Regions from separate parts of the Homo sapiens genome. Here region 2 is linked to region 1. The links are contacts of gene promoters, found by promoter capture Hi-C in blood cells and fetal thymus (Javierre and others, 2016). All regions are on one chromosome and are shown on one strand. Each heading gives the region's core, a stretch centred on a gene start or on the middle of the fragment in contact. The rest is flanking DNA. Distances are from core to core; before and after follow the strand shown. Region 1 holds the start of LINC02909 (long intergenic non-protein coding RNA 2909). Region 2 overlaps IRAG2 (inositol 1,4,5-triphosphate receptor associated 2).

The links. Contacts are between HindIII fragments. The CHiCAGO score rates a contact against its expected background, and 5 or more counts as called.
Region 2: a fragment that was not itself captured here is called in contact with the fragment with the promoter of LINC02909 in region 1 in 2 of 17 cell types (total B cells and naive B cells); the score reaches 9.0 in total B cells.

Annotation. Positions count from the first base shown.
Region 1 is chr12:24,994,150-25,000,400 of GRCh38, forward strand. LINC02909 (long intergenic non-protein coding RNA 2909) reads right to left here and starts at 3,316. Exons shown (of 4, transcript NR_171024.1): 1 at 3,083-3,316; 2 at 2,048-2,190; 3 at 1,658-1,918; 4 at 1-178. It also overlaps a transcript of IRAG2 not described here. RefSeq lists enhancers at 3,875-4,004, 4,255-4,364. The HindIII fragment of the contact is 1,157 bases long and covers 2,914-4,070 here.
Region 2 is chr12:25,055,373-25,061,623 of GRCh38, forward strand. IRAG2 (inositol 1,4,5-triphosphate receptor associated 2) reads left to right here. Exons shown (of 22, transcript NM_001366544.2): 2 at 6,220-6,251. Among named protein-coding and RNA genes, the nearest start is that of IRAG2, 5.8 kb to the left of the region's middle. The HindIII fragment of the contact is 3,947 bases long and covers 437-4,383 here.

The DNA of each region.
Region 1 (6,251 bases), core at 2,066-4,565:
TATTCAGGGCCTTGCTTCATTTCCACCTTTCTCCAAAAACATATTATCACTTTTCTTTCAAAGTAATTACTTCTGTAGTAATCCTTTTTGGAATGGAAGCCATAGATCATTCAAACTCCCAATCCTTTTCTTTCCGAGACAGCATCTTTATATGAAAATTGTCATAGCATGATGTAGGCTGATTTAAAAAAAGAAGAAAAAAAGGCTTTCTGAAGAGACTGCATTTGCACATTAAAGTCCAATTAAAAGGCTGGGCACAGGCACTTTGGGAGGCCGAGGCAGGCAGATCACTTGAGGAGTTAGAGACCAGCCTGGACAACATAGTGAAATTCTGTCTCTACTAAAAATACAAAAATTAGCTGGGCATGTTGGCGCACGCCTGTAGTCCCACTTACTTGGGAGGCTGAGGCATGAGAATTGCCTGAACCAGGGAGGCAGAGGTTGCAGTGAGCCAAGATCACACCACTGCACTCCAGCTTGAGCAACAGAGCCAGAATCTGTCTCAAATAATAATAATAATGATACTTCATTTAAAAAAGCAACTTAAAGGCAATGATACCTAGAATATAAGCACATTAAAGAGTATATTATGAGAAATAAATAGTGCATTTTACATAGAGTGGGTTTTGAAAAATAAAAGTTATGTTTGGCCATGCATGTACTGGAGAAGGAGTCCATTATCTGGTTTTCTTCTTTTCTTTCCTTTGTTTGTTTTTATTATTGTTGTTTTTGAGACAGGGTGTTGCTCTGTCACCCAGGCTGGAGTGCAGTGGTGCAATCTCTACTGGCTAACTGCAGCCTCGACTTCCCAGACTCAAGCTTGATCCTCCCACTTCAGCCTCCCAAGCAGCGGGACTACAGGTGCGTGCCACCATGCCTGGCTAATTTATTTTTTACTATTTTATTTTATTTATTTATTTATTTTTTATTTTTATTTTTTATTGATCATTCTTGGGTGTTTCTCGCAGAGGGGGATTTGGCAGGGTCACAGGACAATAGTGGAGGGAAGGTCAGCAGATTTACTATTTTATTTTATTTTATTTTATTTTATTTGAGACAGAGTTTCACTCTTTGCCCAGACTGGTGTGCAATGGCTTGGCTCACTGCAACCTCCACCTTCTGGATTCAAGTGATTCTCCTGCCTCAGCCTCCTGAGTAGCTGAGTTTATAGGCATGCGCCACCCTGCCTGGCTAATTTTGTATTTTTGGTAGAGATAGGGTTTCTCTATGTTGCCCAGGTTGGTCTCAAACTCATGGGATCAAACAATCCACCTGCCTGGGCCTCTCAAAGTCCTGGGATTACAGGCATGAGCCACTGCACCTGGCCCCTTTCTTCTAATAGTGCCTCTCAACCATACACCTCCCACCTCATTTGTATTTGGTTAGACAAAGTGACTCCCTCAGATCAACCAGGGATTAATCCTGGAGCTCCAACACATATTTAAAACTACTGGCTTGATAGTCTAACAACATTGTAGATTACCTAGAGAGAAGCAGATACGTTATTTAAACGGATTTCTTGACCTATTTACATGATAAGATTTAATTTCCTTGAAATGCCATTTTGAAAACTGGGATTGGCATCCCTTACAGGTTCTCTAATTAGTTGCTTTCAGATTACTTGGCAAGTAAAGGACTATGTTGTTATGAACCCCACCTGCAGTATATCCCGAACAGGAATCTCCATCTTGGGTTTCTTTTTGTAAAGTCTGCATTTGACCCCTTTACACTCTTTTCCGTGTTCATAAACGTGCTCAGGGTTGGAAAAGCTGTTTCAGTAGAGATGGCATATTTCTGGTGGCATTCGGGGGCAGGTACAGGAGTTGCAGGCATCCATCGTATGCTGTCCAGCGTCTGCACGTTCCCTTGTTTGCTCCCAGTGGGTAGAGAACCCGGCATTGTGGGTACCTTATTAGAACTGTCAGGAGGTAATATTACATAAATAATGAAATAACATGTTAATGCAATTCATTACAGGTTCGTTGGAATTTATTGTTCAGGTTATTCCTTTCACTGCTCTGAGAAACATCAGGTATACTAGACTCACCTGAAGCAGGATGTAAGCGTATAATTTGTCAGACGGGCAATATGGTCTAGTGGATCCAGAATTTGAATATTATTTCTGGCTCTGCTGCTGGCTTCCTTTATGACTAGGAGGGAAATGTCTCTGGGTGTTGCCAGTTTCGGTATCTGTGGATTGATAAGCAGATCGCAAGCATGGATGTTATAATAGGTTATTTCATGGGAAATTAAACAGCAAATCTAATGAGAGGAGCGGGTTACTTGGTCATTTCTTTCTAGGTGCTATTTGGTGCTTTAAGAGGACCTCTAGTATTGGATAAGTTAAAGGAGTTTCAGAAAGTGCATCATAACAACATTACTGAGAGCTCAGAATGTGCTACATGGTTCTGAGGGCCATCTGCGTATTAACCTCATTTAATCCCTGCAGCACACCCGGAGGTCATTGCATGATATTGATGCAATTTTACAGATGAAGAAACTGAAGCACATATGGTTAAATAATTTGTCCAAGATCACAAAGCTAGTAAGCAGCAGAACTGGGGTTTGAACTCAGGTTATTTAAACTCAGAGCCCCAGTTCTTATTCCCCAGTATTTGACTCCCCTTTGCTCTCACCTGGTGATAGAAATGATAATGACCAGGCTGAGCGCAATGGCTCACACCTGTAATCCCAGCACCTTGGGAGACTGAGGCAGGTAGATCGCTTGAGCTCAGGAGTTTGAGACCAGCCTGGGCAACACAACAAAACCCCATCTCTACAAAAGATACAAAAATTAGCTGGCTGTGGTGGCATGCCCCTGTCATTTCAGTTACTTGGCAGGCTGAGGTGGGGGAGTGGCTTGAGCCCAGTAGGCAGAGATTGAAGTGAGCTGAGATCGTGCCACTGCACTCAAGCTTGGGCAACAAAGCAACACTCCATTTCCAAAAAACAAAAGAAAAAGTATGAGATTTAACTTAAAAATAATTTTCCTTCATCTGATTAGAAAGTATAATCAGGATGAGCTTTAGTGTGTTGTTTTTTGTAGAGCCGGGCGGGGACCGGGGGTGGGGGGGGGTCTCACCATGTTGCCCAGGCTGGTCTTGAACTCCTGGGCTCAAGCGATCCTCCCACCTCAGCCTCCCAAAGTGCTGGGATTACAGGTGAAAGACACTGCACCTGGACTATCTTTCTGTTATTGCTGTGGTGGGGAGCACACCAAAATAGTGCCTGTCATCCTCATCCTTCCTAGGCATCTTTCCCAGCACTGCTGCTGTGATTAGTACCTTAACTCCAGCCTAGGCAGGTGCAGTGCATCAGCGGCTCTCTTCTCTAGCTTCTTTTACCTCAGCCCAAGCCACTCTGTAGAAATGGGCTCCACCCATGTCATCTGACCTGTAGGTCTCCACTCTTTCTTCCCAGTTCTCAGATGGTTCTTGGAGCACTGGCGAAGTCAAGCGAAAATAAGGTGGTGAGTTTTCCCCAACGAAATAATTAAATTTTGGCTGATGCTGGCCTTTAGTCATCGAAGGCCGAGAAAGTACCGCCCTAACCAGGGAAAAGCAATATCAGATGTAGGCTGTTCTGTTGTGTCTCAACCTCAAAATGCTTGTGGCAAAAGGGACAAACCTCCAATAAGTCTATATTAGAGGTTCAACAGAGTTCATTGAAAACTTGAAACAAATCTGAAAAGAAAAACACTCTACAAATAGGGAAAAAAGATGGGTAGCTGAGAGTGATAAAGTGAGATTCCCCAGATATGTTGCTGTCACCACAGGCAAATCTCAAATTGTTTTCAATGGAGCTTTTGGAAATTTAAATTAATCCTGCCATTTTCAGGCTTGGTCGTTTGGAATGTGTGTTAGTGAAACGCAGTGATGTAGTTTTATAGACTGTAAGAACCTTGGAGGCACCTGAATTCTTGAAGCTAGAGATTTATTGTAGGTCTTCTCTTGTTCTCTGAGAAGAAAACCAGACTTCATATAACAAGAAGTGAGACAGAAGAACAGTTTTCAGAAGCATGTGTCACTCTGCTATTTTAGGAATTGTTCCAATAAGAGATGTTTATAGTAAGCTTGGTGTGACCCAGCCAAGAAGCTTAATATAACAAGGTTAACTGAATTGTGGGAGGAAAGTTTCTAGCCTATACCAGCTTGCATTTATTAATAATCAGAAAGGTTGCGGATGACAGACTTGCTGAGCATTTACTAAATCTGGTACTTGTGGTTTGCAAATCATGTGATTAACAGCTGCTATCATCTATCCTAGAAACGGCAGGAAGAAGTGTTATTATTTTATCACATAAAATAGTAGTCACAAAGAGAATGAAAACAGTTTAATTTGGCAGATATAAAATTCACTGGTTAAGCAGAAAACCATGCTCTGCCCTCCCACTGAGCTCACTAAAGATGGGTTTCCTGGGAATGTCTCAGTGAACAGATGTTTCTTCTTAGGTTTTGATGAAGAGTTTAGTGGCATCTAATCATTAGTGAAGGGTTGTTTTGGCAAAAGGAATCTCTTGTCTATCTACACACATACTTAAATTTTTTTTTTTACGTATATTAAGGATTTTGCATTAATTACCAATAGGATCTCACATAGATGAATCATGAATGATTGACTGGCTTTCCTAATCAAGTTTTGAATGATTTTAAAAATCAGCCTGCCTGATCTAAGGTTTGGAAGTTCAATGCTCAATAAATAACTTTAGTAAAGGGAGGAAAACATTTTAAAGGAAAAAAACAGGAAAGATAATTACATTGTTAATCTGTTTGGAGTTAGAATTTGATTCAGAAAGATTTCTACAGAGCCTTTTGAATCACCCTGAAATCTGCCAGCTTTTTCCAGGATGCTGCTTTTGTACCTCTGTATACATCATATGCCATTCTTTGCAATAAAATGCAACTTTCTTAGTGATTGAATAATATAGATGTTGATAAACACAAATTATGTCATGTTGTTTACATATACATTCCTAAAGAATAAGAAATATTGTCTACATTGTACATACGTAGTAGATTAACTCATTGAAGTCAGAACAAATGTAGATTTCTATAAGTCCCAAAGAGTATGGATGTCTTAGAGGTTGATGTTGAAGTCTGCAGTTACACTGGTGGTGAAAATCAAATATATAACGAATAACTTTAGGTAAGAATCAAATCGGACTTGTTTTACAGATGTTGCCATGTGTTAGAGGATTTTACTTGTTGCTTTATAGTTTTGGATCGGGCAGATGGTTGAAAAGTGTTGATTCAAGAGCTTTGACTGTATGGAACAAGATAATTGAGGCAATAATAATAATGGGACTCAGAATCTATAAGCCAGAGCAATGAAGCATAGTTCAATCAATAGGAGGAATAAAAAAGATTAGCAACATAAGCAGTATCGATAATCTCTAACATCATTTTACATTACATTTAGCTCACATGAATCCAAGTGGAAATTCCTCTAACAGATTTATAGTTCCACTTCTTAATTTTCTGTTTATAACCCTAGAAATAGCAAACAATATGTATAACATTCTGTGCAGTGCATATAATAGCCACATAATAGATGCTCCTAAATTTTTCCTAGCCTCACTCCCAAGCTGGGATAATTTCCTATTATAGGTTCTCATGGCTCCTGACTATGTAATTATTTATTTGACATTTTTCAGGTTGTCAGATTTAGCTAAAAAAAAAAAAAATACAAGACAGCCAGTGAAATTTGAATTTCAAATAAACAACAAATAATTTTCCAGTATAACTATGTCCTGTGCAACATTTGGGGGCATACTTACACTAAAAAATTAGTCATTGTTTATCTGAGATTAAAATTTTATTGGGCTTCCTAAATTTAACCTAATAGCTCTAGTGGCTTACTTGTTCATAGCTGTATCTTCCACAGACTACGAGTTTCAGGATATTGTTTTCTTCATCATTGTATCCCCAGTATTTGCACAGGGCTTAGCACTTAGCAGAAATTCAATAAATATTGGTTGGCTGTCTAAAGGGATGGATATTAAAACTACTTTAATATATTAGATACATTGGCTCACACCAGTAATTCCAGCACTTTGGGAGGCTGTGTTGGGTGGATTACTTTAGCTCAGGAGTTTGTGACCAGCCTGGGCAACATGGGGAAACCCCATCTCTACCAAAAATACAAAAGATTAGCTGGGCATAGTGGCATGTGCCTGTGATCCTAGCTATTGAGGAAGCTGAGGTGGGAGGATCACCTGAGCCTGGGAGGTGGAGGTTCCAGTGAGCCGAGAT
Region 2 (6,251 bases), core at 1,160-3,659, 60 kb after region 1:
TTTCTTCTGCATCTAAACTTTGTTTATATCCAAGTATCTTGTTAATAGACACATGACTGGATTATAATTAGTGTTTGCTTTAAAAAGGAAATTTTTTTTATTATACTTATGTTCTAGGGTACATGTGTACAACGTGCAGGTTTGTTATATATGTATACATGTACCATGTTGGTGTGCTGCACCCATTAACTCGTCATTTACATTAGGTATTTCTCCTAATGCTACACCTCTCCTATCCCCACCCCATGACAGGCCCCAGTGTGTGATGTTCCCCGTCCTGTGTCCAAGTGTTCTCATTGTTCAATTCCCACCTGTGAGTGAGAATATGCAGAGTTTGGTTTTCTGTCCTTGCGATAGTTTGCTCAGAATGATGGTTTCCAGCTTCATCCATGTCGCTACAAAGGACATGAACTCATCTAAAAAGGAAATTTTTAAAAGCTTATAGGATGTGTATATAACATATTAGGGTGAATCTTATGTACAGAAATCATGGACTAATTGATACAATCCAAAACTATCACCCCCTTACTATTCACCATCTCTTGTTCCCATCTGACGTGAAATCTTCATGGAGTCAGTCTTCTCATAGACAATGAGAGAATTACCTTTAAGAATCACAAATTTTTCCTTGAAAAGAGATCCTGGGAAACTCTGATATAGCATAATTTCTTATTTGAACGTAGTATCTGCACATGAACTTCCTAGTTTAGAGGAGACTTTCACCTAGATAATATCACTGCAAACACTCTTTTAGCTTGCTATTCTTAGCATGGAGGGCGGGAGGTATGGCAGAGGTAAAACCCTTAGGGCTTGGAGCATGGATTCAAGATGAAAGCCGTGTCCTAAGCAGTCAGTAAACAGGAGGGAAATGAGCCAAAGAAGGCGGGTGAAGGGATCCAGGTGATTGAGATACTTAAAGATAGAAGGTTTTGGGGTGACGGCCAAGGAGAAAACCAAAGCCAAATACAGCTTGCTCAACAACTCTGATAGGATAGGGACCCAAGTTTTCCCAAATGAAAAATGCAGATATGGAGAAGTAATCTGGGAAGTATAGTATAATGATTAAGAACATGGGATTTGAAATTAACAAACCTGTGTTCTCACTCAAAGTCCACAGAAGAGTGGCTGGGTAAAGTTGAGCAAATCACATTGCCTCTCTGAGCTTCAGTATCCTCTTTGGTTAAATGCAGTTGTTGTGAATTACATAAATAACATAATAAATGCAAAATAGTAGCTAATGCTTGGCCACAGTTGATATTTGTGTTCTGCTAGAATACGTTTCTATAACATGAATCATCTCATTTGTGATTTGTAAATGGGGAAATGCTGTGGTTATATAGTATAGAAATTATGTTGTTTCATTCACGATTTTCTTGGCACTTGGATCTGGATTGGTAGGAATAGAACTCTCACCTTCCTCAGGAAAGGAAAAAGTCCTTAGCTTGGCTGCTGAACAGGCAACAGGAACCCTTTCAGCTTTATTTTGAGAAAATTAAAATAAGTGTCTGCACCTGGGCCTCCCTCCCCAGAGTCACTCTGGGTTCTACAGGGCTCTGGACTTTATAGGGCTCTACCCCAGCCTTGTAGAGCCCTGGTCTGTGTCCAATCATACTCCCTCCTGTGTTCACCTTGTTAGCCTCGCTGCCTCTATCTACATTTGCCTTTCACCCCACCACCACTGTTCTAGTGAAAGCATCACCAGCATTTCCACTCTCTTGTTTTTGTGTATTTCTAATATCCTGTGAGGCATTTAAAGTTGCATGTCTGAGTGATGCATGTGATCTTCTTAGTACTAATAATAAGTGTGTTTGTTAGTACTCTGGTTACAGTGTTGCACATACATACAGATAGGTAGGTAGGTAGGTAGACAGGTAGACAGATTTTTTTTTTTTTTTTTTTTTTTTGAGACAGGATCTCATTCTGTCACCCAGGCTGGACTATGGTGGTGGGATCATGGCTCACTGTAGCCTCAACCTCCTGGGCTCAAGTGATCCTCCTGCCTCAGCCTCCTGAGTAGCTAGGACTATAGGCGAGCACCACTATGCCTGGCTAATTTTTAAATTTTTTGTAGAGGTAGGATCTTGCAGTGTTGCCTAGGCTGGTCTCAAACTCCTGGGCTCAAGCAATCCTCCTGCCTCAGCCTCCCAAAGTTTTGGGATTACAGGCATGAGCCACTCTGCCCAGCTGCATGTATTTTTTTAGTGGTTTCTTCTTAACCCTATTTCTCTCATAATCCCTGCATTATTTTGTTCTTATACTTTTAACTTCTTTTTTATTAATGTATTTAACATGTCATAAAATGTTCAGATCTCGAGTATACTATTCAACCAGGTAGATAAATACACATCAAAACACGGAATTTCTATCACCCCAGAAACTTCCCTTGTGCAACTTCCCAGTCAATGCCCCGCCTCCACCTCTAGCACCCTAAGGAACAACCACTGGTCTGATAGGTTAGCTTAGCCTGTTCTAGAACTCAGTTACACAGTATGTACTTTTTTGTGTGTTTGTCTTTTTTCTGTCAGCATGATGGGATTATGTTGTGTTTCTTAGTAGTAGTTTTTTATTATTGAGTTGTATTTCCTTGTATGAATATTCCAAAATTTGATTGTTTTTCCTGCTGTTATTGGATATCTGCAGTATATGCAGTTTGGGGTTACGACGGACAAAGCTGCTATGAACGTCTGTGTACAAGTCTTTGTGTGCACATATGTTTTTATTTCACCTAGAATAAATATCTAGGAGTAGAACTGTTAGGACATAGCATAGCTGTGACTGTCACTTTTTAAGAAACTGTCAAATGGTTTTCGGTAGTTTTTATAGCATTTCACGCTCCCACCAGCAGTGTGGGTGGTTTTAGTGTTCCACATCTTCAGTATTTGGTAGTGTTAATCTTTGTCATTTTAGCCACTCTACTAAATGGGTATTTCATTGTGATTTTAATATATATTTTTCAGATGTAATGATGTTGGGACCTTTTTCTTGTGCTGATTGGCCATTGTATATCTTCTTTGTGAAGTGTCTAAGTCTTTCACCCATTTTAAAATTAAGTTTTCTGTCCTTTTATTCTTGGATATAAGTCCTTTGACAGATATGTGCTATGAATAGTTGATCTTAGTCTGGGGTTCTTTAATGAACCCTGATATTTTTAATATACAATTTTACAGAACATGAGGTTTTTTCCAGTATAGATAGTATTATACAAGCCCCGTACTCTATAAATGTCATCCATCATTGATAGCTAACATGATAACGGCTCTAATAATGTTATAATTTTCATTTTCAACAGGCAATTAATTGTGGGGCCTTTGCCTGAGACCTCATTGCTTAGTCATTTAGAAAGTTGCTTTATCTCAACTTTCTTCAGAGGCAATGTATCCAAGACACCTGGTCCCATCCTACATGGCAGATGGCAACAGCAGGGGATACAGTAGCCATTGTTTTACTTCCTTCTATATGAAGCATATATTTGTTCTAGAGGCATTACAGGTCCAACTCCAAACATGTAAAGCAGAATGCAAAGGTGAATGCAAATTGTGGTCATAAGCCAACTTGTTTTGCCATGTGGAAAATATGGAAATAGTTGCTATGCATTGCACAAAACATCTGTTGAAATAAGGCTTTCAATTTGAATGCTTCAAGATAGACTGTTTCTAAAACCCAAGATTGCCTGGTGAGCAAGCAGATGGGCAATTTAGACAATCTTATACTAGCTCATCATCGCTTCTGAAACACGGCTTCATTGGCAATTGTAAGATAGTATTCTGAATTTGTATTTTGGAGATACACGACCTTCAGAAACACACGATGGCCACTTCTTATTGCTTTGGTTGCTATTGTTTAGATGTAGATCAGAAGGAGCACAGGGCCTTCCTTCTTAATACAGTTAAGACAGAATTTTTTAAAAATTTCATCTTTACCAGGGTCCTAAGTATTAATAAGAAATAAATTTTAAATTACTTTTGTAGGTTAGAAATACTTATTTTTTTTTCCCCTGAGACAGAGTCTTGCTCTGTCACCCAGAGCTGGAGTGCAATGGCTTGATCTCGGCTCACTGCAACCTCCGCCTCCCGGGTTCAAGCAATTCTCCTGCCTCAGCCTCCTGAGTAGGTGGGACTACAGGTGTGTGCTACCATGCCTGGCTAATTTTTTTGTATTTTTAGTAGAGACAAGGTTTCACCATGTTGTTCAGGCTGGTCTCGAACTCCCGACCTCAGGTGACCCATCTGCCTCGGTCTCCCAAAATGCTGGGATTACAGGCATGAGCCACCGCACCCAGCCTAGAAATACTCTTTTAAAAATATGCTTTTCTTCCTATGTGAGGGAGATGTTTGAAAAACAAACATCTGTTTTGCTCCTAGTGGGCCTAGTAACACTATGTCAAGCTTGATTGAGAAGTAAGTTATTTTTACCAAAAAAAAGTCCTATAAAATAAAAAATTTACATAGGTAATTTTCTACATAATTGAAGCTTTTAGAGCCTTTTTCCTGAAAAAAATTAAAAATTAGATTATGTACTTCTTTTCATTAGCATTATGCTCATGACTCAGAATTTCTCCAGGCTATTAAGATATAAAACTGTTGGTTTATAAAATAAGAAGCACCAGATTTCTATGTATTTTGGATGCCAGAGTATCTGCTGTTAATAATTTTCCTGGCTGTTAGTGATTTTAAAAAAAAGTGGTAGCTATTAATATGCTTCCATCTAGCAGAGCTCCTTATATCCTTGTTTAAGTTTTGCTTTTAATCTTCTTTGGGCTGAGAAGGCAGTCAAACTGGTGAAAATTATGTATATACCCAGAGCCCACTGCTTGAGTTGAAGTGTGAGGTTTGCCACGTGAATAAAGGGCATAAATATCAGTATCTATTCTAGTTGTTCAAAAGATTTGGGTTTATTTTCTGGTTTTGGCTATGTTTCAGAGAGTAGGATTTGTCAAATAAATAATATGTTATTATGTACATCAAAGAGCTAGTTAAATATTAGGTACTTTTCCCCCATTTCCATTATTCCAGGCATAAGACCTTTAGAGATTTTACTTAAGCAGAAAAACAAATATTTTTAGTTTCACAGAATGATACCCTGAGTTAAGCTCTGTTCCATGAGTCTAATCTCAGCTCCATGATTTACCAGTTACCTTTTCAATCGTCTGCACATCAGTGTTCTCATGATCTGAGATCTACTTGTAGGATTCTGGGATCCTAGGGCTGTAATTTGAGGGCTCAAGCAGAGGCTTATTGGAGATAGGATTTCTTTATCAGTAGGAGGTCAGACTGAATGACCTCTAAAATGTATTTTCTTTTTTTTTTTTTTTTTTTTTTGAGAGGGAGTCTCGCCCTGGAGTGCAGTGGCATGATCTTGGCTCACTGCAACCTTCACCTCCCAGGTTCAAGTGATTCTCCTGCCTCAGCCTCCCAAGTAGCTAGGATTACAGGCATGCGCCACCACACCCAGCTAATTTTTGTATTTTTTTTTTTTAGTAGAGATGGGGTTTTGTCCTGTTGGCCAGGCTAGTCCCAAAGTACTGGCCTAAAATGATCCACCCACCTTGGTCTCTCAAAGAGCTGAAATTAGAGGTGTGAGCCACTGCACCAGGCCTAAGATGTATTCTTAGCTTAAGATTAGACAATTCTGTGACTCACTTCTAGAAGACAATTCACATGTATCTATCAAAGTAAAATTTAAATACCCAAGGGAGATAATGGCTTATCTGTTCTAGCCTGGTTTTCCATTTTTCCCGAGTCATAAGTTGAGAGTGCCATTCTCAGAAATCATTATTTTCCCTTTCCTTTTCTTGAGGCCCCAAATTTAAAGCCATTAAAAGTTTTTGAAGCAATGAAATGAATTAAAGGAGACAAGGTTAAATATGCTCATACTGGGCATAGTGGCTCATGCCTGTAATCCCAGCACTGTGGGAGGCCGGGGTGGGTGGATCACCTGAACTCAGGAGTTTGAGACCAGTCTAGACAACATGGTGAAACCCATCTCTACAAAAAATACCAAAACTAGCTGAGTGTGGGTGGCATGTGCCTGTAATTCCAGCTACTTGGGAGGTTGAAACAGGAGGATGGCTTCAGCCCAGGAGGCAGAGTTTGCAGTGAGGTGAGATCATGCCACTGCACTCCAATCTGGGCAATAGAACCAAATCCTGTCTTGAAATAAATTCATTAATTAATTAAATTAAAATGGTCATATTGAGCTGGTTATAAATTCTCTTTGTAGCAACAATTGAGTCACTTCAAAAGGAGTTCATT